2 separate regions of the Homo sapiens genome follow, and region 1 is linked to region 2. Evidence: promoter capture Hi-C in 16 types of primary human blood cells and fetal thymus (Javierre and others, 2016). All regions are on one chromosome and are shown on one strand. The core of a region is centred on a gene start or on the middle of the fragment in contact, and the rest is flanking DNA. Distances in the headings are between cores, read along the strand shown. Region 1 has its middle 23 kb from the start of PPP1R21. Region 2 holds the start of FBXO11 (F-box protein 11).

Region 1 (7,142 bases), core at 3,223-5,722, 510 kb after region 2:
CTGTGTTTATAGTTGTCCTGTTTATGGTGGATGTATGAATAAGTATAGAATTTGACTCCTTCATCACATCTTCTCGGGTAGCTAGTTCTAAGCATTTCCTTATTGAAATACATATTACTTTATTATAAATTAACTCCCTTTTATTTCTCCTTTGCATCTTTCCAGGGAAGGCCTTACGCTGATTCTATTTTTGAGAAGTTATGTGTAGGTAGATTATATTATCTATAAACTTAATTGCAGGATCATAATAATTGCCCTACAAATTTAGCGGGGAGAGAGCTTTGCTCTTGACCATGCCTGTTGTTCTAACTGATACCAATGAATACACACTCAGCCCTTTGTCTGCCTTCTTTGCTTTAGTGCTAAGAGGCAGAAAGGACTGACAATAGCGAGCTAAGCCTTTGGGGTCTGTATTTCAAATAAAACAGGAGTGATTTTTACATTCATCAATGGCAAGCCTGGGTTTGGACACAAATGCAAAAGATGCCTCCTATGCAATGTCATTTGAGAGCTAATTCTCTCTGAGGGTTAAATATTAATCCAGGATCTTCCATGAACTGTTCTGCACACACTAGTTTATTAGAGGACACAGATTGGGATAGGACTCTCTGTTGATATGGGGGAGGCAGGGCCGACACAGCTCTGGAACTCCAGGCGCTCAGAAAGGGAAAGAGGGGGAGGTGAAGAAACCACACTGGCCATCTGGGGGTAGGAAGGAGTGCCAAGGGAAGCAGCATGCACAGGGCCACTGAGAGGACTTGCGGCCAGTGATACCAACCTCACCGTTTGCCTTGGTCAGCTCGCTGGGGTGACTGAATTAACCACATCTCTCTCTCCTTAATTGGAGCAGATAATTGGCAAGCTGGCTTTGTGCACAGGAAATGTGTTCAGATAGATTTGGCGGAGTGTGGCAGGAAGAATGGGGACCACCTGATTTCATCTTGTGCCAAGGAGGGCGACACAAAGCGCCAGTGTCTCCTATGGAGCCTGGCCCAGGCAGAGCATTGGGGGCAGAGAGCCCTGTGCAAACCCACAGGCCGGTGCTCCCTTCAGGAACCTCAGCTGGCTGGGCTGAACTGGGAGCATGCTGGAGCAGCTGATGCTCAGGAGCCCTGGGGCGGGCTCTGTGGTTCAGCTGCTTTGTGACTTTGGCCATGTAATTTAACCTCTCTGTCTGTTTCCTCATCTGCAAAACAACTGAAAAAGAAATGTTATAACGCCTTTAAGATTATGTCACTCCATCCCATGCAACCCACAGATGCTGCTTGAATGCCTACTCTGTGGGTAGAGCTGCTCTGGGAGCTCTGCCTACTTCCTGTTGATCCCTTGTAGGAGTGAGAGGAGTGTAAAACACAAAGATAAACCATAAACAAATCACTGCAGGGCCATTTAAATCTTCACCTTCTCCCCAGAAAAGTCTTCAGCACTTTCACGCCAGGTTGGAAAATATGGCCAAACCTCCTCCCTCAGCCCTTTGCCCAACTCTTTTTCAGAAGTACCCCCAGGAGAGGGATTATTTAGAGATAGTTGTTGCCAGGGTGACAGAAACCAAACATCAACAGAAGTGTCACTATTTCTAAGGACACTTTGAGTGAAGTGCTCATCTGATGACCGACCCCATGACTGCCAGAGGCTCTTTTCCAGCTTTTTGGAATCTTTATCTTAGAAAACCCTTTGTTGTTGTGAAATGCTCTCAGGTCCAGAAAGGAAGTGAGGGTCAGTCAGCAATGCAATCGCAACCCCCTCAGTACACACAAGCAGCACTGTGGAATAGCAACTGTTTTTGAAGGACTCATCTTCATTTGACCCTGGCTTAGAGTTGGTCTATGAGGGCTGTTTCCTGGGGATTTCCACCTGAACTGCAAAGAGCCCTGGCCCCAGCTCATGCCACGTGGAGGATGGAGACAGCTGTATTTCTTGTGTGACTTTCTCTGTGTGGCAAGAGGTAGATGAAGGGAGTCAAGGACAGAGCAAGTCTCTCTACAATCCTGAGCATCAACATAGCAACAGAAGCATTTTGTGACTTGTGTTCCTAAGGGTAAGTTTAGGACAAATTACCAAAGCACATAGAATACACATTTGTAACTGACATTATTATCATTATTTTGCTTTTAGCTCAAGATTTATTCTTCATGATCTAGCAGTTATTCAAATGAGCATTTTCTTTTAGTAAAATCATTTGGCTTAGAGCTATCCATCTATTAATATTACCATTCATTACAAACATTTGAAAGCAGACATGCATTTGTATTTTTTTAAATTAATCTTAGTTATCATGCATAGTTGGGTTTGAATTACAGACACTTGCAAGCTCATAAAAACTGTAAGGGGGATAAATTCATAAAATTTATTTTGCAAATAAATAAGCTGTAAGAATCATCAAATATCTCCAAAGATAAAATGAATCAGGGAGTCACATGTCATTCTAATGACCAGCTTGTTAATCAGAGATTCCATAATTACATTCCTCACTGCACTGTTGTTGTTGTGAGGCTTCAATAAGAATATCAAGTTCTTGGTGCCCAGTAGGCATCTAATAAATGAGAGTTGTTATTAATATGTTTAATCCTCAAAAACAGACATACCTACAAAGACACACACACACACACACACACACACACACACACACACACACACTTATGGTCCTTTTAAAGGAATTCCATCTTTGGTGGAGACAGATGGATACCCCCTTCAGACCCTGAGCGTGAACATTGAATATCTATTCTTTGCTTTTTTGGAGCCTGGGTCATCTGAATACAATAAATATCCCTGAGAGCCTCTGTGAGTTCAGCCCTGGCTAGGTCAGCCCCTGAACACACACTACCAGGCTAACTGGGAAAACAAAACATCTAAGTAGGAAAAACATCCCAAGACTGCATCTGAGTAAGTAATAACTATTCTGTGGCATAGATGGGGTTTGAAGTTCAAGATCCACCTGGAATACAATTGCAAGTGCTGTGCAGAAAGACTCTGTGGGGCCAGGTGCGGTGGCTCATGCCTGTAATCCCAGCACTTTGGGAGGCCGAGGCAGGTGGATCACTTGAGCTCAGGAGTTCAAGACCAGCCTGGGAAATATGGCGAAACCCCATCTCCACAAAAAAATTAAAAAGTAGCCAGACATGGTGGTGCATGCCTGTCATCCCACCTACTCAGAAGGCTGAGGTAAGAGGATCACTTGAGCCCAGGATGTGGAGGCTGCAGTGAGCCATGATCATGCCATTGCATTCCAGTCTGGGCAGCAAAGTAAGACCCTATCTCAAAAAAAGAAAAAAAAGAATTTTCCTCCCGGTCCTGGAGGAGGAATATCTTCAAAACTGCCTGGAAGTTCTGGCTCCTGTCTGGGGTACACCTGAACAGGACCCTCTTTACCAGCCCTATCTGCTCCCTCTGCTCACATAACTGGTTCAACAGCCACACTCCTCATTTCTGTCCCCAAATAGAATGTATGCTTATGTGTGTGGCTTTTCACATGCTGTACCCTATGCCTAGAATGCCTTTCCTCCCATTCCCCCTAAAACTTCTATCAAAGCTTAGAGCCACCCTGAATTGCTCTCCTCTCATAACCCACATCCTGTCTGCCAAGACATCCAGGTGGGCTTCTATATGCTGCCTTCAGAAAACACCTAGAATCTGCCTTTGAGTCACCATATTGGTAGTGAATACCTAATCTCTGAACATGTCCTCTCTTACCTGAATCACTGCAAGAGCTTCCTAAATGTTCCCTGCTTCTGCCCTTGCTTCCCTGGCCCCCTGTATGCTCTCAACACAGCAGCCAGAGTGACCTCCTTGCAACACAGTCAGATCATGTCATATCTCTGCTCAGAATTCTCCAAAGCAGAGGTGGGCTGGAATGGCAAGCATTAGTTAGTGAGGGCCAATCCTGCACATCTCTCCCCTATCTGTGGTCAGGAATGCCACACTCATGGCTTGAAATAGGCCAAGGTGGGAGATTTACCACAGAAATTGGCAAATGCTACAAACCAGGGCTTTTTATTTTTATTTTTCTGAGACCTAGTTGGCCAGCATACCGCTGCTCCTATGATGGTACATTTCTCTCAGAGTCAAAGTCCAGGTCTTTAAAACTCCCCACAAGGCCCTCTGCAATCTGACCTTCTCTCCTCCTTCCTTGCCCTCTGCTCCAGTCACACTGACCTTGCTGCTCTTCAAACATGCCAGCACATTGTAGCGTCAGGGATTTTTGCCCTGGCTGCTCCCCATGTCTGGATCACTTCCCCCAGGTAACCATACCTGGGCTCTGCTTATTCCTTCTCTTATGGTAAGTTCTTGCTCAAATGTCACCTTCTCCTTGAGGCTTACCTGACCACCTCCCCAAAAATGCTAAACCCCTCTCCAACTCTCCTGACCTCCTTACACTGTTCTATTTTCCCCACAGCATTCTAACCCGCTATAGAATGCACTTACTTATTCTATTTTTTATTCATATTTATGCGCGGCATCCCTCCCCGCCACCCCACTAGAATACCACCTCCATGAGGGCAGGGCCTGTTTTCTTCCCTGATGCATTCCAGCACCTATAAGGGTGCCTGGCACCCAGAAGGCACTCAGTAAGCATTTATTGGCTGACCGGCTAACCTGATCTTCAAATGCCCACCTGCTCTGTATATCTTCCCTAAACTTAGCACCTTCCTGCCTTCCTCCTCTCCATCCCCAGAAGGTCCAGGCTTTTGTCCCTCTATGTTAGTGGAGTCCTCTTTGTACATGAAGCTGCTAAAGTGCTTCTGTTGCACCATAATGATTTTCTTACTAATGGCCTCCCCCATCAGCTGGCTATGTCTGAGCTCTTCAAAGCCATCTCCAGCACCTATCCCAGTGCCTGGCACATGCACCACCCCATTGGTCTATTAAATGAACATATGAATGTATAGAGGAACAGTAGCCAGAATTTAATTTTTCACATTGATTCCTTTTCTCCTCCAGAGGCCCCCTTTGGTGATAGCTCTGCTAGGAAGGCCTAGAGCAGGGAGGGACTGGGAGATATCATAGAGGGAGGCAAAAGGGGTGCTTCTGGACTCTATGCTCTGAGCAGTCTGGTTATGACTATCATGCTCCTGCCACTTCTCTGCTCAGCCGTTACTCCTGCCTTTCATAAGCTCTGATCTCCCTTGATCCCTGGCTAGGGTCAGCTTTACACACAGGGAAAGAAGACTGCTGACCGTGGTGTGATGCCAAGGCTTCAGGAAGGGTTCTCATTCCCAAATACTTTCTTTCTCTTTGTGCCACTTTCCTTGGAGTCTTCTTGGAAAGCAAAGCCTCAGCTACCTGGTTCACTGCTTGAGGTCGTGATGGATGCGTAGAGTATTTTCAGTTTTTCAAAAGGTTTTATGGAAATGCTGTTGTTTCTGTGTTGCTCAGAGTCTAGTGGGGGAGTCGGAAGCATGGGGTTATGGTTGTGGCAGAAGCTTCCAAGGAAAAGCTCAGGATGCAGGAAGAATGCCTGAGGGGAGGCCTTTGGCTGGGAGCACGGAGGGGTCCAGGAGAGGAACTCTTCAGGCAGAGCCAACAGCATCTCGGTGAGCACAGGGCAGTGGGGACCGAGAGGCCGCCCGGGCTGGAGGGCAGTGAACACGGGCAGCGCAGAGTGGCACCGAGGAGGGAGGGGCTGATTGTGCAGGCCCCTAGGCCATGACAGGGCTTCTGCTTTTTACTGGAGGCCACAGGGAGCCATCCGAAGCTGCCCCCTCTAAAGGATTTTCTTGAGCGGGAAGTGGCAGGATCAGATCTGCGATTGAGAGAAGCCCTCCCTCTCTCATCCTCCCGCTCAAGCCCTGTGTCCTCTAAAGCCCTGGCTCACGGAGCAGGAAGGTGGCCTGGAGCCCAGCAGGCACTCAGTGCATGGCCAGAGGGAACGGGAGGCCCAGGGGTGTGCAAGAGAATGGGCGCCCGAGCCTGCAGAGCGCCTGGCAGTTTAGAGCGGTCCCGCCATCTTCGGGGTCTTCCCTGCCACAGAGGCTTCTGAAGGTCGAGGCCCCTCGTCTGTCCCCAGTGACGCCCCTGTCCACACGGGCCAGCTCACTCCTGCTCTGCTAGCCAGGCCTATCCAGGACAAAGAAGGGGCTGTGCCCCTGCAGAGAGGGGGGTATCCTTTCCCAACCATCAAGTGAGAAGGAAGGGTCCACACCCAAAGCTAAGCCCCAGGGGAAGACAGGATGTCCCAACACATCCTGTAGAAGCACCTAGTCATCTTCCAGTTACCAATTTGCCTTACTTGTTCTGTTCAAATAGGGTAATTGTTTCCCCAAAAAGACTTGGGTATAGTGGAATGAAGTCACCAGAGACGTGCCTAAACAATGACAAACACCGGTCCTGGGTGCGCCGAAACCCTGGTAACCAGTTACTCAGACTGCGGGGCTGATTTTATCTTTCCTGAAGCAGCCGCGGAGCAAATTCAGTGATGGCACGCCCCCTGGTGGTGATACGAGGTTCTACCAGGCAGAAAGGACCGTTCTGGGGAGCGACTCCTCTGGGTGGAACGGAGAACGGGAGGAGGAGGAGGTTTCCGGACGTTCTCAGCGGCACATATTCATGGCTAATAATAAATGTTGATCTGTTGATTGAAATATGAAATAAAAGTGATTAATATAACCATTAGTAATCAAGGTATTGGAATGTGAGAATTTTAATAAAAGGTAAATCATCAGCCAAGGCAGGAAGAAAGCAGGGAGAGTTGGTCTGATAAGAGAAATAACTTTTGAGAGCGTCCATATACTTTCTGCTTTGACACTGTGGGTATTATATACTGTCTTTGTTTACCTAAGGCAGCCTCTCTTTTTATTTTGAAATTTTTCAAATATACACAAAACAGTGAAAAGAACTATAAATCCCCACATACCTACCACCCAAGTTCTGGAATATCAAGTTTTTGTCACTCTTGCTTTATGTATCCGATTTTATTTTATTTTATTTTATTTTGAGATGGAGTTTCACTCTTGTCCCCCAGGCTGCAGTGCAGTGGCGCGATTTCGACTCACTGCAACCTCCGCCTCCCAGGTTCAAGCGATTCTCCCGCCTCAGTCTTCTAAGTAGCTGGGACTACAGGTGCATGCCCGGCTAATTTTTGTATTTTTAGTAGAGACAGAATTTCTCCATGTTGGCCAGGCTGGTCTTGAGCTCCTGACCTCAAG
Region 2 (7,072 bases), core at 1-2,500:
AAACCAAACAAAGCGCGGCCTGAGCGAGAGCCCAGGCGAGAAGGGAAGCCGCGGCTTTTCCTGCCGGCCGGGCCCGGCCCGGGCTGACACTGCGGCACCGGGGGACCCGCCTCCGCTCAGCTTGGGTCTCCCACCCCCAGGGCGCGCAGGCCGCCCCCGCCCGCCCGCCCGCCCGCCCGCCCCGGCCTCCCTTCCCGCGGTGCCCGGGAAGGCGGGCGGTTGGGAGGTAGCGCGGCCTTACCCCGCTCGCCGACGTTGTTCCGCTCCTGAGGCAGCGGCGGAGGCGGCGGTGGCGGCGGCGGAGGCTGCTGCTGCTGCTGCTGCTGCGGCGGCGGCGGAGGCTGCTGCTGGGGCGGCTGCTGCTGGGGCGGCTGCGGCGGCGGCTGCTGCGGGGGCTGCTGCTGCTGTTGCTGCACCGGGCGCGGCCGCGACACTCGCCTGGGTCTCCGGTTGGCGGCTCGGACGGAGTTCATTTGCCGGGCTGAGGTGGCGGCGTTGGCGGAGGGACACACACACGCACACGCACAGCGAGCTTCGGGGCAGGAGAAAGGGGTGGGGAGAGTGGGAGAGGGGGGAGGAAGGAGAGGGGGCGAGGGGAAGGGGAGACGCTGAGGGCGGAGGGGGCGAGCGGGACCCCGAGTCCGGAGAAAGGCCCGGGTAGACAGACGGAGACCGAGCGAGGCCGGCCGGGAGGGCCTGACGCACGGGGAAGGCCGAAGCCGCCGGGCGGGGCGGCCGCGAGGGACGAAGGCAGAAAGACGGGCAGACCGAGAGAAAGAAAGAAAGGGCGTCCGCCGCTTGGGGATCCCGAGGCGAAGCGCGGCGGCGGCGGCGGCGGCGGCTGAAGAGACAGATCCCGGTCCCGCCGACTCGCGAGCGGCGTCTCCGGCAGCGGGGGGAGTGGGCGGGCGGGTGAGGAAGGGAGAAAAAGAGAGGGAGAGAAGGGAGGGAGGGAGCAGGGGGCGCCCGGCTCTTTTTTTTCCCTCTTCCTCCCCCCCACACCCCCTGAAAGAGATTTCTGTGAGGAATTTTTCTCTCTTTCTTCGGTCTCTTCTCTCTCCTCCCCCCCTTCTCTCCTCGGCGAAGGGGAAATGAGTGTGAAGGGAGGAGATAGGGGGAAAAAGAGGCGTCGTCCTTCCTCCTCCTTAAAGGAACCTTTCCTCCTCCTCCTCGTCAGCCCTGTCGCCGCTGCTTCTGCTGCTGCTCCGTGGCAGGAGGAGCCATTGACACCGCCGGAGCCTCCACTCGCCCAGTCGGTCCCTCCCCGCCGCGGGGCTGGCCGGGGGCGCGGGGGAGGGCCGCGGGGCGGCGGGGGGAGGGGTGGGTGGGCGGGGAAAGGAGGGGCGGGGATTCCGTCCAGGCGGCCAATCTAAGGCGCCCGTACAACCTTCCGGCCAATGGGGCCTCCGCTCTTATCGCGAAGTCCCTTCAACGCCCTGTTTCCTCTCTCGGGTTTCCTCCCTCCCCCGCCTAGGAGGGGGAAAGAGGAAAGGGGGAGTGTGGCGGGGCGGGTGATAATGGGGAGGTATCAGGGCAAATAATAGAGCAGGGGGTGGGCGAAGAGAGCGCCAGTGCGTAGCGACGATTCTGGGAGAGGAGGTGCTCGGAGGAAAGGGCGGGGGTTGCTGATGTAATGGGGAGAAGTGATTAATCCTTCGGTTCGCCGTTTCAGCTTCCCCCCTACCCCAACCTTCACCCGATTTTTTTGAGCTGAAAAAAAAGTGGAACGAGGGAGCCAATCTTTGGTAACTCGGGTTTTCTGTGGTAGGTGGGTTCAAAATCTGAGCTGTAGGGAGCGCTAGAGATTTCGTGCCCTTTAGCCAAGCTGAGGGTATTTGCAAACCCTGAAGATTTCCGTCTCCGAGCTTTGGGCTTGGTAAGCGAAGTTTGGAGTCGGTGCCTAATCGTATATCATCTAAACCTTGAAAAGGCTTTGACCTTTGGCCAATTTGATTTGTTCTTTGAAGAAGTGTATACAATGTGTGGGAAAATAATATGTGAGAGGAGAGAAGTAAATGTGTTGATGTTGTGATTGTTTATGTGATTTAATTTTTAATTTTTTTTTTTTAGGTCCCACAAACTGCAAGGAAAAGAAAAACCCTCAACAGGAATTACCTTTATACCTGATGCCCCCAACATAATCTCTCTCCAAGGGAAACGTGTTTTTATTGCCTTGCGGCTGAAAATGTATTCTCGATTCTCCCCCTTCTCTCTTTTGTTGTGCATTTTTTGGATGTGGTAAAACTGGCAGTTTATCTGATTATCTGGTTTTCAGAACTTTGGGCGATGTCTCTGAGTGTCATCAGTTGCTCTCTAGGTTTGACATAGATAATTAAGCAACTACAAAGCGTGATAAAGCTTTTGAGAGGGAGGAAAATGTATTTTGGAAGGAGGGAGAGACGCAAAGAGGCGAGCCTGTGTGTTGAGTCCCAGACTTGGTGTGTGACTACAGGCAAAGTACTTCACCTTTCTAGATGTCAGCCCCGCCCCCCTCACCTCCCAAGTTTAAATAAGAACTTATTTTAGACTACATGATCCTGTTTTCAATTTTTAAGAGTTCTGTGATTTTGAGATGATCTCTCTTTAGTCCAGAAAAATAGAGAAACGTAGGTCTATGTTTGTTTCTCAAAAAAATATTTGAGGAGGACAGCTGTTACAAAACAGCTGGAGAACTCCAAATTTTTATGGTGGTTAGCTAGGTGCAAATGGGTACAATTTTAGGTTTGTTCAAATAAACATAGGGGAAAAGTAAAAGTACAGGAAAATTACGTTATACATATAAGTGTGTCCATCATTTCTGATTTTTCTAAAAATTTACTTTTTTATTTGACAAGTACTTTTTGGCTCCTTCCGTGTATGCATTAATATGTATATAAGGTGTTATGGGAAATACTAATAAAAGGAAAATATTGGGCATAAAGAGTTTGTATTTTGGTGTGGCAGAGTGGAAGTTTTACTTACATTAATTCAGATGTAAAGAAAATGTAGCTTGTTTATTTTCTGTAATTTTAACTTCAAGTCCCCACATCATCTCAATTTTTTAAAAAACATAACTGCTTTCACCTTTTATTTCCCCAACTCTCCTTCTAATATATTAATGGGAGGGGCGGGGTTTAGGGTTGTTATATGTGGTATAAGGGGTATCTTTTACATACCCTAGATTTCTAAGTTTATTGCAACAATTCTCTGACATATGGCAGTAAAATGCCTTGTTTTAGCAAAATTAGTATATTATGACAATTTCCTGATAGATGGTAGTAAAGTGTCTTGAGAAAGGAAGCACCTTTTTCAAATTCACAGAGTAACTGGTAGGGTGGTAGCATCCCTGAGGAATAGGGAGGTTTACAAGGGCATCTAAGCCACTAATGCCAGTCCTTATGTTGTCTTCTGGCGTGGAGTGGCTAGTATTGTCTGATGGCAGCCACTGTCGTTTATCATTTATTACTCATAAAACTGGTCATTTCTGTACTTTTGAGGCTGATTTCTTTTGCTGAAATCCATACATGAGCCATTTGCCCCATACACTATAACCTCTTTGTACTGACCCCGAGTCTCCACAGGTCCCTTGATCCTCATGGTTCTCACTGAGACACATGGGTACTTCTGGATTCCCCGAATACCACGTGTAGGCCTTGATGAGCCAGGAGCCTTGCTTTGGGCTTACTAGTTGTTGAGCCACTATCCAACAATGTTGCATTTTTCTCCTTATGTCATATTGAACATGCTGGCAGGCTGAAAGTAGAACTCCTAGACGTCTTAGTGTTTCACAGACATGTCCAGGGACGCAAACCACTATCTCCAACTTTCTTGGATTTCCCTATGTCTCTGTGCATATGTCAACTACATACCCTCAATTCTAGTTTCCACCCTGAGAGGGGATGGAAAGTAAGCACACTGAGTCTGATTAACCTCTTCCTTGTACCCTTTTCTTCTTTCCATCATGCCCCAGGGTTTTTAAGGAATGGATTTTTCTCCTTCCCATTTGTCAGGAACTTTCCTTCTGTACCGTATCCTCTTCATTTTTGAGATTTGGCATTTCTTCTGCTCCCTTTCTTGGAGCCGTGATAGCTGATGAAGTGCTCAAGAGAGAACCCAGTTTAACAATAATGGAACACCTATTGGGAGATATTAAAAAATATTATCCTATCCCTACATTACTGGTTTCTACATATGTTTAGTTTATTTCAGGGATTAAATGTTGAAGTCATCTTTGTGTAAAAGTGTTCAAACTCAATTGTGGAACTTAAGAGTTGTCAGGACGGACCTTGGAGATCATTAAATCTCATTTCTGTATTCAACAGACTAGGAAACTAAACTCCAAAGAAGGGAGGTGACAAAACTATAACTATTTGGTAGCAAAGCCACTGTCTGCCAATCCAGGGCCCTTTCCATTCAGAAGCATTGTAGACAGTATTTTGAGTTCTGGTGAGAACCCAAAATATCCTGGAAGGTTTTATCCATAGGCAGATCCACCTATATTAGTAAATAATTCTGTCAATTAGCTGTCATAAAAGTTATATATGTTAGAAAACAGGAGAAAAATTTAAAAGGATTTCTTTTAGGGGTGGGAGCCACCTAGAATTATTTCAGTAATACTTAGCATAATTTCAGAGGACTGAATTCCCTCAGGGTTTGCTCTCTCTTCAAGAACATTTGTGTTTGTTTTTCTCAGCTAATTACTGGTGCTTAAAAGGTTAGTGTACTTAAAATTATTTGTTTATAAAACCTATCACAATAGCAGTGTGGAAAAAATAAGCTCTTTAATCATTTTAATACCTGGCAGGTGATATTTACTGTGATTCTTAAATTATAATTTTACCATTTCAAAGATTCAGCTTCCCTTTCCTCTGTCATTCTATCATCTAGTCCCAAGCCGTCAGCACTTAGTTACATAAGACACCTCAAAGCTGCTCACTCCTTTTATGTCATTTAAGAAATTAGTTTGATCTGAATATGGTTTCCCTGCAGGAATAACCAGCTCTGTTTAAAATATTCTTGTTAAAGTATGAATGACTTATCTCACTAAGCTGCAAAAATTCATTCTTCAGTACATGCCCAGATAATTTTTTATCAGTTAGGTAGTGAAAATTAACTCGGAACTAAGGATTTAAATTTAACGTATATGTGGGAAAACCTGGTAAGCACACAATCCAATGATACCCAGAAGTTATCTTTAAAGAATTATAGAATCTGACTTTAATACCTTTCCCTGTGAAGTAATACAGAACGCTATTAAAAGAAATCAATTTTGTTCAAGTTTTAGGCTGGACTGTGATACACAGTGGTAAATCTTTGTTTTTTAAGAGCAGAACCAATTTCTTTTTATTATTATTATTATACTTTAAGTTCTAGGGTACATGTGCACAATGTGCAGGTTTGTTACATATGTATACATGTGCCGTGTTGGTGTGCTGCACCCATTAACTCGTCATTTACATTAGGTATATCTCCTAATGTTGTCCCTCCCCCCTTCCCCCGATCCCACGACAGGCCCCAGTGTGTGTGATGTTCCCCTTCCTGTGTCCAAGCATTCTCATTGTTCAATTGCCACCTATGAGTGAGAACATGCAGTGTTTGGTTTTCTTTCCTTGCAATAGTTTGCTGAGAATGATGGTTTCCAGCTTCATCCATGTCCCTACAAAGGACATGAACTCATCCTTTTTTATGGCTGCATAGTATTCCATGGTGTATATGTGCCACATTTTCTTAATCCAGTCTATCATTGGTGGGCATTTGGGTTGGTTCCAAGTCTTTGCTATTGTGAATAGTGCCGCAATAAACATATGTGTGCTTGTGTCTTTATAGCAGCATGATTTATAATCCTTTGGGTATATACCCAGTAATGGGATGGCTGGGTCAAATGGTATTTCTGGTTCTAGATCCTTGAGGAATCGTCACACTGTCTTCCACAATGGTTGAACTAGTTTACACTCCCACTAACGGTGTAAAAGTGTTCCTATTTCTCCACATGCTTTCCAGCACCTGTTGTTTCCTGACTTTTTAATGATCGCCATTCTAACTGGTGTGAGATGGTATCTCATTGTGGTTTTGATTTGCATTTCTCTGATGGCCAGTGATGATGAGCATTTTTTCATGTGTCTGTTGGCTGCATAAATGTCTTCTTTTGAGAAGTGTCTGTTCATATCCTTTGCCCACTTTTTGATGGCGTTGTTTGATTTTTTCTTGTAAATTTGTTTAAGTTCTTTGTAGATTCTGGATATTAGCCCTTTGTCAGATGGGTAGATTGCAAAAATTTTCTCCCATTCTGTAGGTTGCCTGTTCACTCTGATGGTAGTTTCTTTTGCTGGGCAGAAGCTCTTTAGTTTAATTAGATCCCATTTGTCAATGTTGGCTCTTGTTGCCATTGCTTTTGGTGTTTTAGTCATGAAGTCCTTGCCCATGCCTATGTCCTGAATGGTATTGCTTAGGTTTTCTTCTAGGGTTTTTGTGGTGTTAGGTCTAACATTTAAGTCTTTAATCCATCTTGAATTAATTTTTGCATAAGGTGTTAGGAAGGGATCCAGTTTCAGCTTTCTACATATGGCTAGCCAGTTTTCCCAGCACCATTTATTAAATAGGGAATCCTTTCCCCATTTCTTGTTTTAGTCAGGTTTGTCAAAGATCAGATGGTTGTAGATGTGTGGTATTATTTCTGAGGGCTCTGTTCTGTTCCATTGCTCTATATCTCTGTTTTGGTACCAGTACCATGCTGTTTTGGTTACTGTAGCCTTGTAGTATAGTTTGAAGTCAGGTAGCATGATGCCTCCAGCTTTGTTCTTTTGGCTTAGGATTGTCTTGGCAATGTGGGCTCTTTTTTGGTTCCATATGAACTTTAAAGTAGTTTTTTCCAATTCTGTGAAGAAAGTCATTGGTAGCTTGATGGGGATGGCATTGAATCTGTAAATTACCTTGGGCAGTATGGCCATTTTCACAATATTGATTCTTCCTATCCATGAGCATGGAATGTTCTTCCATTTGTGTCCTCTTTTATTTCATAGAGCAGTGGTTTGTAGCTCTCCTTGAAGAGGTCCTTCACATCCCTTGTAAGTTGGATTCCTAGGTATTTTATTCT

Evidence for each region. Contacts are between HindIII fragments. The CHiCAGO score rates a contact against its expected background, and 5 or more counts as called.
Region 1: a contact is called between a fragment that was not itself captured here and the fragment with the promoter of FBXO11 in region 2, in 17 of 17 cell types (total CD4 T cells, activated CD4 T cells, total CD8 T cells and 14 more). The highest score is 40.1, in total CD4 T cells.

Annotation. Positions count from the first base shown.
Region 1 is chr2:48,414,492-48,421,633 of GRCh38, forward strand. No RefSeq gene overlaps it. Among named protein-coding and RNA genes, the nearest start is that of PPP1R21, 23 kb to the right of the region's middle. The HindIII fragment of the contact is 1,891 bases long and covers 3,528-5,418 here.
Region 2 is chr2:47,905,248-47,912,319 of GRCh38, forward strand. FBXO11 (F-box protein 11) reads right to left here and starts at 1,251. Exons shown (of 23, transcript NM_001190274.2): 1 at 242-1,251. The coding sequence starts at 473. It overlaps LOC100506235 (a long non-coding RNA gene), which reads left to right and starts at 303. Exons shown (of 2, transcript NR_187636.1): 1 at 303-552; 2 at 2,071-2,920. RefSeq lists silencers at 24-73, 84-203, 564-753, 1,244-1,343 and an enhancer at 1,413-2,197. The HindIII fragment of the contact is 3,894 bases long and covers 1-2,356 here.